4 separate regions of the Homo sapiens genome follow, and regions 1, 2 and 3 are each linked to region 4. Evidence: promoter capture Hi-C in 16 types of primary human blood cells and fetal thymus (Javierre and others, 2016). All regions are on one chromosome and are shown on one strand. Each heading gives the region's core, a stretch centred on a gene start or on the middle of the fragment in contact. The rest is flanking DNA. Distances are from core to core; before and after follow the strand shown. Region 1 holds the start of HSD17B4 (hydroxysteroid 17-beta dehydrogenase 4). Region 2 has its middle 14 kb from the start of SRFBP1. Region 3 has its middle 2.3 kb from the start of DTWD2. Region 4 holds the start of PRR16 (proline rich 16).

The links. Contacts are between HindIII fragments. The CHiCAGO score rates a contact against its expected background, and 5 or more counts as called.
Region 1: a contact is called between the fragment with the promoter of HSD17B4 here and the fragment with the promoter of PRR16 in region 4, in 1 of 17 cell types (total B cells). The highest score is 5.1, in total B cells.
Region 2: a contact is called between a fragment that was not itself captured here and the fragment with the promoter of PRR16 in region 4, in 1 of 17 cell types (megakaryocytes). The highest score is 6.4, in megakaryocytes.
Region 3: a contact is called between a fragment that was not itself captured here and the fragment with the promoter of PRR16 in region 4, in 2 of 17 cell types (total B cells and naive B cells). The highest score is 9.1, in total B cells.

What each region holds. Positions count from the first base shown.
Region 1 is chr5:119,449,990-119,453,811 of GRCh38, reverse strand. It overlaps HSD17B4 (hydroxysteroid 17-beta dehydrogenase 4), which reads right to left and starts at 1,315. Exons shown (of 24, transcript NM_000414.4): 1 at 1,179-1,315. The coding sequence starts at 1,236. RefSeq lists an enhancer at 1,165-1,214. The HindIII fragment of the contact is 7,394 bases long and covers 1-3,822 here.
Region 2 is chr5:121,945,676-121,949,454 of GRCh38, reverse strand. No RefSeq gene overlaps it. Among named protein-coding and RNA genes, the nearest start is that of SRFBP1, 14 kb to the left of the region's middle. The HindIII fragment of the contact is 2,114 bases long and covers 1,045-3,158 here.
Region 3 is chr5:118,988,761-118,992,983 of GRCh38, reverse strand. No RefSeq gene overlaps it. Among named protein-coding and RNA genes, the nearest start is that of DTWD2, 2.3 kb to the right of the region's middle. The HindIII fragment of the contact is 1,187 bases long and covers 2,380-3,566 here.
Region 4 is chr5:120,461,851-120,465,683 of GRCh38, reverse strand. It overlaps PRR16 (proline rich 16), which reads right to left and starts at 1,384. Exons shown (of 2, transcript NM_001300783.2): 1 at 1,039-1,384. The coding sequence starts at 1,197. RefSeq lists an enhancer at 509-1,010 and a silencer at 1,416-1,465. The HindIII fragment of the contact is 2,017 bases long and covers 548-2,564 here.

The sequences.
Region 1 (3,822 bases), core at 66-2,565, 1.0 Mb after region 4:
AAAAACATTTAGAAGGTATGACTACACCCAAATACATGCCCATGCAGAGATAACCAGACAGCTATGGGTATAAAATACTTGGCTATTCATCAACACTGAAAGCATTTTCTGAAAGGCAGCATAAGAAGCCACTTTATCAATACAGATATGAAAGTACATAGGAATTAATTGACAGAATTCCAGTTTGTAACGTTTAATATATAACTCAAATAATTCATGCATTAGGGCCTTTCCAGGTATAAGGTACTACCAGTGGAGAATCAAAGGTGCATAATGTCAAGATCCCTGCACTTGGAGGTTACAGAGGTCACCCACTGGTGAGAAACTAATGTAAAATCTCACTGCACAGCATCTATGTTGGTATGAATGGTTTGTTTTAATTTTTTGTACTTTAAAAAATGGGGCTATTTCACATAACAATTTTCCATTTTGCCGCTCCTGAAATACAGGCAACTTTCCCACTGGCCGGTCCACTTCGGAATTCTCTGCTCTCCAGTTCCTCAGATGTGCCCATCCTACTCCCATTTTCTTTCTCCATCATACGCCTGACCCCTGTGCGCATTTGAGCTTACAACCTCTGCCAAGACTCCAGTGGATTTCGAGAACAGATTGTGACTTGCTAAGCATACAAACTCCAACGGGGAAGGGCTCTTATCAGACGCCCTCTTTAAAGAAGGTCCTCTCACGAACTTAAAATCTTACGACAGAGGGAAACAAACACTGAACGACCGAATGACTTTTCAGGAGCTGACATCTCTGCGCTTCAGGGGGCGAATTCCAGCCCCCGCCCCTCGCGGCTTTTCAGTCCTTTAAAAGACTAGGCAAAGATCTAAGAGAGTTAATTGCAGGAAGAGTAACAATCGATGCCCACAGATAAGGGTCAGGGAGAACTTTCACCCAGTTTTGCAATCAGCAGCCCAGCCTGGCCTCTCCTCTCAGGCAGGACCTTGGGAAGCCCACACCGGGGTGCTGGGGAGAAGCGGGCTGTACCTGCTTGAGAGACCAGGTGTTTCCGGCTCTTTCCTCCTCAAGAGATGCGGTGCCTCAAGAATAACCATTCCCCTCCCCACCACCTCAGCGGGGTGACCTCAGCTGCGGCTGCGCGCGTATGCCGGCCCGAAAAGAGCAGCCAGCTGCGCCTCAGCAAGGGGCGCGGCCTCCAACCTTCGCATGCTCACCTGCCCCCGCGCCGGTGACCAGTACCACCCGCCCGTCGAACCTCAGCGGTGAGCCCATGAATAAGGCCTGCAACGACACACACACGAACAAGCAGAGCCGCTGGACGCCGACTGCGGGACAGGAGGAGGCGGGGAATGGCGGGGGCGGGACGAGGGTCAGTGACTTGCCGATTTCTGGTAGGAAGATGAGCGCAGAGCGCGCGGCTCCCTTGGAATCCTGGGAAATGTAGTTAAGAGTGACTCCACTCGCTGGAAGACTTGCCTTCCAGGGGCCATTTCTGCGGCTGGAAGCAATGGGAGCTGCTAGGACTTGTGTAGAAGAATAGTTAACTCGACACCTTGCGTTCATCTATTCACCTGTCGTTTCATCATTCACTCAATAAACGTTTTCTGGGTTTAGTTGCTGACCTAGAGAAACAGCATGCGGCCCCTATCCTTGAGGGGCTTCCAGAGATAGCCCCTGGGAAGGAAAGTCCCCCTTAGGGATGGTAAAGATTTGTCAGTGTAATAATCCCTGCACTTCTACATGCAAACATCAGGGGACTGTCAAAATGCAGAGTCCTGGACCCCCACTGCTTACCTCCCAAAATAGAATCTCAAGGGGCAAAAACATTTTGACAAGTGTTCCTAAATGATCTTGCGTTTGTATGTTGAGAACAGTCATAGTTCAATCAACATTTACTGAGCATCTCCTGAGTTTTGATAGGATCCTCAAGCTACTCAGAGTCAGATGGTAAACTTTCAATAACGGTGCAGCCTAGACTTGTGACCAATGTGTGTAAGTGAGCTAATGGTGTCAAAATAAACAGACCCTATCCCCGCTGGGGAGAAAGAGGAAAAACTTTCTGAAGGAGGACCAGGACCTAAAGTGGCGACCCCTGCAAAGAAAGAAGGGCATTACAGGCAGCACAAACACTAGCTAGGTTTGGGGAGAAAGAGGGTAAAGCCACAAAAGCAAAGCCAGCAAGATCATGTTTAGATGTTTGAATTTTGTGCTGAAAACGGTTTTAAGTAGGATTACTCCAGAGAGTGGTGGGAACACATTTACACTATGGAAAGATCACTTTGCCCATTATGGAGGATTGATTGGATGTTGCGGGAAGTCATGGACCCCAAACAGAGGGACCTGCTAGAGCCGCAGCAGAGGAACATAAATTGTGAAGATTTCACGGACATTTATCAGTTCCCAAATAATACTTTTATAATTTCTTATGCCTGTCTTTACTTTAATCTCTTAATCCTGTTATCTTCGTAAGCTGAAGGTGTACGTCACCTCAGGACCACTGTGATAATTGTGTTAACTGTACAAATTGATTGTAAAACATGTGTGTTTGAACAATATGAAATCAGTGCACCTTGAAAAAGAACAGAATAACAGCAATTTTTAGGGAACAAGGGAAGTCAACCATATGGGCTGACTGCCTGCGGGGTTGGGCAAAAACAGCCATATTTTTCTTCTTGCAGAGAGCCTATAAACGGACGTGCAAGTAGGGAAGATATCACTAAATTCTTTTCCTAGCAAGGAATATTAATATTAATACCCTGGTAAAGGAATGCATTCCTGGGGGGAGGTCTATAAACGGCTGCTCTGTCTTATGTGGTTGAGATAAGGACTGAGATATGCCCTGGTCTCCTGCAGTACCCTCAGGCTTACTACGGTGGGGAAAAACCCGGCCCTGGTAAATTTGTGGTCAGACCAGTTGTCTGCTCTCGAACCCTGTTTCTGTTGTTTAAGATGTTTATCAAGATAATACATGCACTGCTGAACATAGACCCTTATCAGTAGCTCTGCTTTTGCCCTTTGTCTTGTGATCTTTGTTGGACCCTTATTAGTAGTTCTGCTTTTGCCCTTTGTCCTGTTCCCTCAGAAGCATATGATCTTTGTTCTGCTTTTTGCCCTTTGAAGCATGTGATGTTTGTACCTACTCTCTGTTCTTACACCCCCTTCCCTTTTGCAACCCTTAATAAAAAACTTGCTGGTTTGAGGCTCAGGTGGGCATCACGGTCCTACTGATATGTGATGTCACCCCCGGCAGCCCAGCTGTAAAATTCCTCCCTTTGTACTCTTTCTCTATTTCTCAGCTGACTGACACTTATGGAAAATAGAAAGAACCTATGTTGAAATATTGGGGGCAGGTTCCCCCAATAATTAGAGGTGGGCAAGGAGAACATAGAAAAGATTTGGGGGAAATTATGGAAACCAGAAGTAAGGCAGAGGAAATGTTGAAGAAGAAATGTTGAGATAAACTGTATTTGCAAATGGAACTGACAGGGATAGAAGGCAGGGAAATTCTGGGCAGAAGAGGGCAGGTCCCCAGTGAGGGCTCCAACCTCAAGCCTGAAAACACAGCCCAAAGTGAGAACATGCATCCCTGTTTTCCCTCTTGAATGTTGCCTTTTCCAAAACCACCTATGGTCCCCCTGCCCCCCATCCTGTGCCCATAAAAACCCCAGGCTCCAATGGCAGAGAGGAGAGGAGAGAAGAAACAGCTCGACTTCAGAGGTATGGCTTAATGGCGTTGCTCCTGGGGAAGATCACCTTCTCACTCCATCCCCTTTTCAGCTCCCCTTCCCATTGACAGCCACTCTCATCGGCAATAAAATCCTCTGCATTCACCATTATTCAATTTGTTCCTGTGACCTG
Region 2 (3,779 bases), core at 852-3,351, 1.5 Mb before region 4:
GAGCTTTGGCTCTGGAATCAGACTATCTGATACTAAATTCTAATTCTACGTCTTAATAGCTATATGATCTTGGGGAAATTATGTAAGATCTCTGTGCCAAGGCGTCTTTATTTGTGAAAATAGGAGTGATAATCTATCTCACAGGATTGTTGTGATGTTTAAATGAAAACACAGTATAGAGTTCTTGATGAATATTTACCTCTAAATAATTTACTGTTATTTTTATTATTTCATTTGATCTTAACAGTAACTTTGTGAGATAGGCATGGTACATAAGAGGGATTCATGTCTTATGAATAACAAATATACCTAAGGTCATAGAGGTAATAAGGGGGCAGTCCAAGTCTTTTGACATAAAATCACTGGTAGCAATTTTGTAACAGCTCTATGATATGAATGTAAAATTACATTAATAGTTTGTAGCCACCATGTCATTAATTCCCATTCATCTAATTATTTATTAATTATCAATAATTAATGAGGTAATATAATTTATAAACTATACATTCCTTCACATATACAATTTACTTCTTTTAATTATTTGCCAATTAGCCCAAAATAGGCTCAAGATTATTGCAACAAAGCCTGTAATAATTTAAAGTTAAGTTCAGAAAACATTATTAAAACCCAGTTCAGATTCTTTTCAACATAGTGATTGGCTTTGATTCATTTTAATAAACGTTTTTGAGTGTCTATTTTGCAAAGTATTGTACTAGGTTCAGTAGGAGATACAAAAATGATGAAGACATTGTCCATGTCCACCGTGGACTTACAGAGTAGTAACTTAAATGATTCTAATACCAAGATAGACTGCATTAAGTACTGTAGTAAGAGTGTGAGGCACTATTGGAGTCTAACAGGGCAGTGAACAAGCAGTTTGACGAGAATGCTTCCTACAAGAGGTGGAATTTGAGTTTCATTTTCAAGGAAGGAAGCACTTTAATAGGAAGCTGAAGAATAGGAAGAGAAAGTTTCCACTGGAGGAAATTAGTTAGATAAAACTAGGTAATAGAAGACACACTATTTCACAAATAGAATAAAGCTTCCAAAGGATTTTTCATAAACCCCTAAAATCTCCAAAAACATTGTTAGGCCTAGCAATGAAAACCTTTTTAATTTCTTAAATATATTTTCTACACACGTCCCTCCTAAAAAATGATAGTTTTCTTAAGTTATTAAACATTTGAAAAAACTGAAGTAAGGTGTTTTAAGGCAAAAAACAAAATACATGAATCTTAATAGACTGATAGAAGTAGGTTTCAGAATACCTGGAAATTTATGGATCTGTAAATGATTGAGTAATCTCTAAAGGAAATTTTGCTGCATTATACTTAAACATAAAGATAGAAGTTTGAAAGAAAGTAAAGTGAATGATATTGTGAAAGTTAATTATTCAAAATGGAGACATTCCTGTCATACCCAACTAAAATGGAATTGGGAAGCCATGGGGAAGGACACCCAAATCCCTTCCAGGAACTATTTTTGCAATTCAAGAGAAAAAAAACATCATTTTAAGATTACATCTTACATAGTAACTGCTGCCACTTACTGCTTAGAGCTCAGAAGCTCCTACACTCAGCTCAACACTGCTAGTGCCAATGAACTTTCTTTCAAAGCAACGTACATAACTTTTCTCTTTTTCTCAATAAAATTCCAACCTTTCTTTTTGTTTTTCAGACACATCTAAGAGCTACTCTGGATTGTGTGCATTGAATTGCAATTTTAATCCTTGTATATTATTCCCCAATAAATTGTTTATTTGGAAATTCAACTATAAATAGTTTTACTTAAGGTTTATAATGTAAGCCTGTTCAGAGAAAACATTTTTAATTTGTCCATCAAGGAATAAAGTATTTGTAACAAATTTATTGGTCCACTTCTCCATCAAGACCAAGAGAGAGGCAAGATATATGGCCTGGAGAGGTAAAATTAGCAGGTCACCTAGCCTCTCCTTGAAGAAATCAAATGCTGTTTCTCTAGTAAGAAGAAGAGTAAGAGAGAGAAGCTCTGTTATTTTGCCCAGTTCATAGTCAAGCATGATATCTCTGCTTCATTGTTTTACAGAGATTCCTCAATGTGCTCACTGAACTTTAGTAACTACTTGTTACCACTCTACTGCAAGTCTACTTCTCAATGTCACCAGTGACCTCCTAGGCACTAAGCTGGATTTCAGAGCGCTTTAGTATAAGATCATCATCCCAGTCCTTTGCCATTGATTGACAGACTTGACTGTGTTGGCTGAGCCAGTGACCGCTTCCTCTCTTGCCTCCCAACATGTACCACTATCTAAGCTATGAGCCTCATCAGGTAGTGGTTGCTTCACACCAGACTTTTTCATACCTGACCTAGCCACATGGACACTATTAATTCAACAAAAAATTATCCAGCCCAAATGTCAATAGTGCTGAGGTTGAAAACCCCTGATCTATGTTTATGTCCATAACAACCAACTGTATAGTGCAATGAAGTACCAAGGGCTGGGCTGTGGGAGAGGATAAAATCTGCAGAAGTTTGGACTTAAAAACAAAGACGATAATGGTATTAGGGAGTTACGTGACACACCAATATGTAGGAATGTCTCTACTTTTTGTGTTTGATTAATAATTTATTAAATATACTTGAAAATCAATATAGTCTGTAGGGAGCCTTTAAAATGATGCTTTCATAGTTTTTTTTTTTTTACAATCATAGAAAGCAGATGGTTCTCTAAAACTTACAGGTAATTAAAGGCTTCTTAAACTCACAGCATACAAATATTTCAACATTTAAATAGAAGCTCATTTTCTTCTAAAGTAATTTCCTTGTACATTCTTATTAAAGTATAAAAAGGACAACATTAATAGTTTTAAAAACCTATATTTAACCTAAATCAAGATTTTTCTACAAATTATCCCTGTTCCCAAAAAGTTTAAAAGATATCAGAGAGTAATGTGATACTAAACCAAATAATCTCATCACAATGGAGCATTTCACTTTTAAGAAATATTGGGCAAAATTTCCTATTTAACCTTTCATGCTAGATTTTAACTGTATGTGTGCTACATGACATACCAGATTAATCCAAGTCATTCTGTTGATGCAGTAGATTGTTATATATGACCAGTTACCATATAATATCATACTGTAATTGCAAAAATGACAATATTTATGATAAAGCTTAGAAAATCTTTTTAATAAAAAGCAGACCTCACTGCTCCAATTTTTTATAAAAATTACCTCTTTTCCTCCTATTTATTTTTTGCCTTGAATGGTACCTTTCATAGTATGTTAATATGCAAAGATATTTACATTACTTTTATCTAAGTTAGCCTTTTACATGGTTGCTTTCTGTTTGGATACACAGAATTTATCAAAACACACTGACAGTAGATTCTTAAGCAATTCTGAAATTTTTGGTCCCTTTTTAGGTTCCTGCAGAATGATTTTTCTCAGAAAAGTGTATCTCTAAGAACTTAATGAACCAAAAGAAAATGAATGACACAACACAGCAACTGTATTTCCATGGTATCTTATACCCCAAGAAACACTTCAAGATTACATTGTCTAATATTAGGCCTATTGCCATGCAATGACCTTGAGCCAAAGACCACCAGAAGCACAGCTGTAGTTAAATGAGTTAGATTTATTACTTGTTTCAATGAGGGAGAATGCACACTATAGGGTCTCGGTAAGAAGGTGTTTGAAAGCATCTGTAGAATTAGGGGTTTGCTTGAGTAATTTTGGAGAGGATCTGATGAAGCAGGGGTTAGATCTAAATTAGGTGCTTTCAGAAAGCAGAA
Region 3 (4,223 bases), core at 1,724-4,223, 1.5 Mb after region 4:
ACACCAAAAGCAATGGCAACAAAAGCCAAAATTGATAAATGGGATCTAATTAAACTAAAGAGCTTCTGCACAGCAAAAGGAACTACCAGCAGAGTGAACAGGCAACCTACAGAATGGGAGAAAATTTCTGCAATCTACCCATCTGATAAAGGGCTAGTATCCAGAATCTACAAAGAGCTTAAACAAATTTACAAGAAAAAAATCAAACAACCCCATCAAAAAGTGGGCAAAGGATATGAACAGACACTTCTCAAAAGAAGACATTTATGCAGCCAAAAAACACATGAAAAAATGCTCATCATCACTGGCCATCAGAGAAATGGAAATCAAAACCACAATGAGATACCATCTCACATCAGTTAGAATAGCAATCATTAAAAAGTCAGGAAACAACTGGTGCTGGAGAGGATGTGGAGAAACAGGAACACTTTTACACTGTTGGTGGGACTGTAAACTAGTTCAACCACTGTGGAAGACAGTGTGGCTATTCCTCAAGGATCTAGAACTAGAAATACCATTTCACCCAGCCATCCCATTACTGGGTATATACCCAGAGGATTATAAATCATGCTGCTATAAAGACACATGCACACATATGTTTATTGCGGCACTATTCACATTAGCAAAGACTTGGAACCAACCCAAATGCCCATCAATGATAGACTGGATTAAGAAAATGTGGCACATATACACCATGGAATACTATGCAGCCATAAAAAAGGATGAGTTCATATCCTTTGTAGGGACATGGGTGAAGCTGGAAACCATCATTCTCAACAAACTATCGCAAGGACAGAAAACCAAACACTGCATGTTCTCACTCACAGGTGGGAATTGAACAATGAGAACACTTGGACACAGGAAGGGGAACATCACACACCAGGGCCTGTTGTGGGGTGAGGGGAGCGGGGAGGGATAGCATTAGGAGATAGACCTAATGTAAATGACGAGTTGATGGGTGCAGCACACCAACATGGCACATGTATACATATGTAACAAACCTGCATGTCGTGCACATGTACCCTAGAACTTAAAGTATAATAATAATTAAAAAAAAAAAAAGTATCCTTGATGAAGTAGCCTAAGCTGCTGCTCTGCCTGTGGAGTAGCCATTTGTTATTCTTTTGCTTGCCTAATAAACTTGGTTTTCACTTAAAAGAAAAATAAGTGGCCAGGCGCGGTGGCTCAGTCCTGTAATCCCAGCACTTTGGGAGGCCGAGGCGGGTGGATCACCTGAGGTCCGGAGTTCAAGACCAGCCTGATCAACACAGTAAAACCCTGTCTCTACTAAAAATACAGAACTGGGCCGGGCGCGGTGGCTCACGCCTGTAATCCCAGCACTTTGGGAGGCCGAGGCGGGTGGATCATGAGGTCAGGAGATCGAGACCATCCTGGCTAACAAGGTGAAACCCCGTCTCTACTAAAAATACAAAAAATTAGCCGGGCGCGGTGGCGGGCGCCTGTAGTCCCAGCTACTCGGGAGGCTGAGGCAGGAGAATGGCGTGAACCCGGGAAGCGGAGCTTGCAGTGAGCCGAGATTGCGCCACTGCAGTCCGCAGTCCGACCTGGGCAACAGAGCGAGACTCCGTCTCAAAAAAAAAAAAAAAAAAAAAAAAAAAAGAACTGGCCTGACATGGTGGCACGCAGCCTGTAGTCCCAGCTACTCGGGAGGCTGAGGCAGAATTGCTTGAACCCGGGAGGCGGAGGTCGCAGTGAGCCCAGATCACGCCACTACTCTCCAGCCTGGGCGGCAGAGCGAGACTCCATCTCAAAAAAAAAAAAAAAAACAAAGGAAAAAGCCACTAAATTTGTGGTTATTAGTTCCACAGTGATAGAAAATGAATATAGCAAAAAATACCATGTTTTTATTTCATTTAAATCAAATCTTATACAATGCTGAATCCTCATACTGCAGGCCTGGCAGGATATTCAATCCCTTACATTACTGAGGCCCTTTCCTCTACCAGTAACAGGATCTCCTTTTCCCACAACACCAGGCGTGGACCTAAGATTGTCCTCAGTCTTTACTACCCAAACTCCTCTGAGGCAAAGGAGCATAAAAGTCTGGTTTTCTACCTGAAGTTGGGAGATAAACAAAACATACATTAACACCTCAATACATTATCTTGACACTAGTAAGTTGTCTGTATCCCATAAAGGATATTTTACTTCCCTTTCTGGTGTCTTGGCACTTCCCAGAAGCTGAGTCACTGATGGTCTGATACCTGGGTCTGCCCCAAGGTGGTAACCTCACCTGCATGTTTCCTCAGGCGTCTGAAGGTCATTGTTCACAAACCTGGATATTGGGTGAATTTCTTGCTTCCTATAGAGGAAAATGGCTCTCCTTTCTCAACTCTGTGTCTTGCCTGGATGGAAGCTTTCTTTGATTTTGGTCAGCCTCTGAGACAATGGACTTGTAGGGGATTTTCTTCATAAGGAGCGGAGATGGAGCAGGAGACCACTTAGGTCTTTGGCAATATTCTATGCAAGAGATGACGGGGGCTTGAACCAGGGCAGAAGTAGTAGGTGAGATAAATGTTTGGATTTTGAATACTTTGAAGGGTAAAGCCAATAATCTGATATGGGGTGTTAAAAGGAAGCCCCAAGTAAGTAGGCTCACATCAACCTAAAAGGAAGGAGCAGAGGCAAAATTAATATAGAGAGTTTATTTGGGCCAACGTTGAGGACTGTAGCCTAGGTCGTACTTCCAGGTTGCTGTGGAGAGTGCTCTGGAGAACAAAATGGGCTGGAGTTTTTAAAGAAAAGAGAACGAATCAGCAGAGGGGGGCATTACAAAAGCTATGTCTCAGGAAGTGTCATTTATTTACAGAAATAACATTGGTTAGTGATTGGCTATACATATTGTTGAACTATAGGGTATACGGCGTTTTATGGCTACTCGGTGTCAGTCTAGGGCCTGCATAGCAAGTGCCTTCAAGAGGTAATTATTTAGCTCAAGGGAGAGTGAGACATGACTGCTCGCATTCCTTAGATAAAAAGTTTTTTTTTTTTTCCTTATCATCTGTCTTCTCACACCACACAATTGGGAGTCTCAAGGGACCTTAGAGGACTTGAGCACATTTCACCTCTTGAAATTAAAGATGAGCAGCTTCCTTTCGTTTAAAGATAAGTCACATGAGAATTTAATTTTGGCAGTTAAAGAATTGGTTCCCCAACCTAAATCTACAGACAAGATGAATTTTCTGATTCATCTCCTTTCCTACAGTTTCTGGATTTTGTTTATCCTCCGATTCCAAATGGCATAATTGCTAGTTCTTTCTCCCACTCTACGTCCATCACCAGGTGGGTGTTTCAGCCTTTTTCTATCCCTCACATAGGACGCTCCAAAGGAAAAGAGAGGTGCTGTTTCCGGGGGGAAAGAACGTAGGATAGTTGAAAACAGCACGGTATTTTATTCACAAACTTGATTTTAAGATGACTGAAAAATCTAATGTGAAATAAACATTTTAAGAAATACAGTATTTGCTCTATTACTGTGTTGTCTACTTTGCCTCACATTTAATCTATTACAACTATAGAGTTAAGACAACTGTGATTCCTAAGCTTAATTCACATGATTGATCAAAACCAAGCTTAATTCTGTTTTAATGTTGTGTATTGCTGGAAGTAACACAAAGCATTAATAAACAAAAGGAATTCGATACCCATTTTGGGTAAATAGTATTTCTGCCTTCATTCTAACATAGATTTCATTTTGGCTTTTAAAAAACAGCTGCTGTGCTATATACCGCCGTATCCAGTAGTTGTTAAATACCTGGGCAACGTTACCTTTCTAGGGCTTGTTTCCTCATACATAAAACCTATTGGTACCCCGGGCCAGCTCTCCTATTGCTTCCTGATCGGGGACGATCTAAAAATCTAATTTAACAAATATCTGGTGTCCAGTGTAAAATAGCATGCTTGATGTCTTATTAGCACAAGACATAGAAGAGCAGGAAATTCACATAAGGAAACGGACCAGCTGTGAGTAGTTCCCAGTGGATATAACCTCTCCTTTGTTGGCCTTTAAATAATAAGTGCATCAGCTGCCGCACCTGCGATGCATGCACGCGTGGAAATCCTGCAAATTCTTAAACTGCCATCCCAAGGCGGAAAATGCAGAATTCCATTTTATTTTAACTTTTAAAGGAGTTAAATTCGGGCTTGGTACTGGGGTCCTCTCGGGGAGGTTTCCCTTACCTCTCCCAATGACGCTACTTAAC
Region 4 (3,833 bases), core at 135-2,634:
AGTGAGCGGCGCGCTGGGACTCTGCTACCAGCTCCGCGACGCCGCCGGCAGCCAGCCTGGCTCGGGAGACCCCACCCCTCCCAGCCCGGCCCCCGCCCCCGCCCGGAGCCGCCGCCTGAGTTACGCAGCCTCAGCCCTGACACCTTCTCTGCTTCTTTCCATCTGGATCACCTGGGGCTAGGGGCGGGCGGGAGTAGGGCTGAACCGAAGTGGGATAGGAAAAGCGGGGAAGAACCGAAGCAGTCCCAGCTGCAGAGAGCCAGGACGCCAATGGCAAGACCCCGGCCACACATACACTCTCCTGCGCGTCCTGCTTCTCGGGTTCAATGCCAAGTGGCGACAGGGTGGAAGGAAGGAAGCAGAGGTAGGGTGGCGGGAAGGCCCAGAGTTACTGGTAACGACGTTCGGAGGAGAGCAGGGGATGCTTCAGAAACTGAGAAAGTGAGAAAGTCCCAGACCCCCTCCTTAGCCCCAAGGCTGCCAGCAGCCCGGGTCGCCTTCCCTACAGCGAGGCTCGAGAGACAGGGAGGGTAGTCTGAGCCAAGCTTCCTCCAGGCTGCCCTCCCTGATCTGGCCCAGGGCCCAGAACCCGGCCCCTCTTCAGCCCTGACTTGGGGAGGCTGACAGATAGGCAGCGGACTTGCCAAAGGACTCTGGGGAAGCAATAGGGCAGGAGAGGAGCATCTTGCACGCTCCAGCCGGGCTGCTCACGACTTCCTCTGCCGACACACCCCCAGCTAACCCTCTCCCCCGTCGTCACACACACAGATTCAGAGACACGCGTGCGTTCATCCCTCCCACCAGCCCAGGTCCATCGATTAAAACACTAGTTGATTTCTTCCTGATTAAAAAAAAAAATTAAAAAGTGCAACAACAACTCCTCTCAGGACTCCAGGAGCAAAGAAAGTCCGTCTGCAGGCGCCTTTTCTGTAGTTTCCCAGGAGTTTGGAAATCTGGCTGTCCCTGCTGAAAATCGGAAAGGGGACCCCGGAGGGGTCGAAGGGTGCCGAACTCCCTCCCCACCCCTGCGCCTCTCACCTCCTTAAGTTCCTTGGCCACGTCCTTCAGGTCGCCCAGGACTAATTCCAAATCCTCCACGATGATCTTGATCTGTTCCTTCACCTTGGTTTTGGAGGCTGCCGGCGGTCCCTCGGCTGGACAGGACGAGGAGGGGTTCCCCTTGGACTTGGCTGACATTCTTTGGGGGCAAGCGAGGCAGGTCAGGACAGGCGGGCGAGCGGAGGCTGCTGCGTGCCCCCGTCCCTGGCGCTGCTACGGCCGCTGCCGCCCCGGTCCCCCCACATCTTGGGCGCTCCCTGGGCAGCGGCGAGTGGCTGCGCTCCGCGCTCGGCCGGGCGGCCGCACAGTGGTGCTGCCATCAACTCCCGAGACGCGGCGCTCGGCTCGGGGCTGCAGACGGGCGAGCAGCGCGCCTGCGCCTCCTCCCGCCGCCGCCCGGCGCTCTCGCGCACACGCGCTCGCTCCCCGCCCGCGGAGAGGGGCGCCGTGCTGCCGCGCCAGGGTTGACGCTTGCAGTCCCCTCGACGTTGCCCTTCGAGATATCTCCCAGATGCCACCTTGGCATCAAGGTGGGGGAGACAAGTCCGTGTCCTGCCCGCCCCCTCCTCTTGGTTCTGAAATGTCCCCATCATCTCAGCCTGCTTGCTGTATGTCATCTCACAACTAGCCTGGATTCTTTCTGCTTCACTTGCTAGCAGGGACCTGGATCAATTCAGAAAGAACCACAGTGGGATCAGGAGTTGGAGACAGTCTGTAAAGTGGCCCTACAGATTTATCCAAACCCAAATGATGTCCAGAGGCCTTTAATCAATCTCTTGGTGACCTGCGAGTTAAGCAGACTTCTTAACTTCTGCAAGAAAAAAGGGGGGGGGGGGTGCACATAACAGCTAATGGTCATCTATTGAAACCATGAAATTCAACCAGTGTTCTTGAAAGAGGTACCCTAATCCTGCTAATTCCACAAAGCTAATACCGGATTTATTAATTTGAAGTCCCCACACCCCAAATCCTCTCTGATTGTCTCAGTCATCTTGGCTGTATGTCTTATTTGGCCCAACTCTTTTTTTTTTTTTTAACTGTCCTTCCTCTTTTTGTGACCTATGCTGATTTACATTTTGAGTGGAGTGGGGGAGACATCGTATTTGGACCTCGTGAAGGAGCTGAGTAAGAGATTGCCTCCAACTTCTCTTTCATCATTTTTTAAACCTCCATTTCAACTCTTTTGCTACTAAACAAATAGGAAACAACTTTCTGACTGTTCTGTCAAAAAGACCCAAGAAGGGAAGTTAATAGGAAGCCTTCGGTTCACTCTCAGTAGGTGTCTACAATTCTCATTAGCTAGAATTTTAACTTCCTTAGTTGTAAACCCATGGGCTATTAGCTACTGACCCAGCAGGCTGGCTCTACTTTATTTTCTTCACTGCACACTCCTCCAGATCATTCTTTTAATAGGCTTCCCCTTTTCGTCGTGCCTTAGCAAGGCTCTCTGTTTCTTGCTTCTCACACTCTGGGTAGCTCCACTGTGCTACACATAAAGAAAAGCTTGGCAGCTCTCCTCTTCCCAGTTCTGTAGGCTCTTAATCAATCACTCTCTTAATCCTGGACAATTCATCTTTACAAAACCTTTGGAAGTCATATGTGGAATATAGAGGAAGAAAGAGAACAGAAGAAAAAATTGAAATTTGAAAGTGGTGTCAAAAGAAAACCATTGAAAACTGCATTGAAAAATCAGGGGAAGAAATGAGAAAAGGTGAAAAGCAGATGCTGCTGGAAAGACTTAAGAAGAGATTATAAGAACAAGTCTGCAGCATGCAAACTGGAGAAAAGAAAAAGAGAAGAAATGATTAAAAGTGTGAAATAAGTAATATGCTTGAGTTCTCTGAGGTAGGGAGAATTAGATTTTTAAAACATCCTTTTTCTCCTCAAATTCTTTATTTTATAAAAAATATAACATTAAAATAATTATATCAGGTTTACAGACTCCCCAAAATTGTCAAAACTAGCAAAAGCTAATGGTAGGGGAAAAGAGAAAGTACTATTCTTCTAGATTGGAATTATTTTTGACTCTTAATAGTAGGCAAGTGTGTAAGAAAGCCGCCAAACTCAAAGTTAAGTGACTTTAGACAAGGATATGGGAGAGGAGGAAAGGAAATTGTGATTTCCCTCACAGTGACAAAATAATCCTCCCACAATATAAGAAGATGTCCATGCTACTCTGAATCTCATTCACTAAAGATTAAAAAAAAAAAAACAAAACAGGCTAGGCACAGTGGCTCATGCCTGTAATCCCAGCACTCTGGGAGGCCGAGATGGGTGGATCACAAGGTCAGGAGTTCAAGACCACCCTGGCCAAGATGGCAAAACCCCATCTCTATTAAAAATACAAAAATTAGCTGGGCATGGTGGCAGGAGCCTGTAATCCCAGCTACTCAGGAGGCTGAGGCAGAGAATTGCTTGAACCCGGGAGGTGGAGCTTGCAGTGAGCTGAGATCGTGCCAGTGCACTCCAGTCTGGGTGACAGAGCGAGATTCCGTCACAAAAACAAAACAAAAAAAACTGTTCTCTTCTGATACTCTGATATCCACTGCTGCTACTGAAACAAATAATTCTGACTTAAAATCAAATCATAATTATTGCTTAGAAACACACCACCCACACCCATATCACAGTTCACTCTGAAATAATCACTATCATCTATCTATCTATGTCTTTATACAATATAGAGTTAACTGAATAGGGAAAAGTTAAAATTGGCTTCCAGGCCCAAACTGAGAAAGCTGGTAGGATTGCAGCAGTGGTGTCTGTCCCTATCT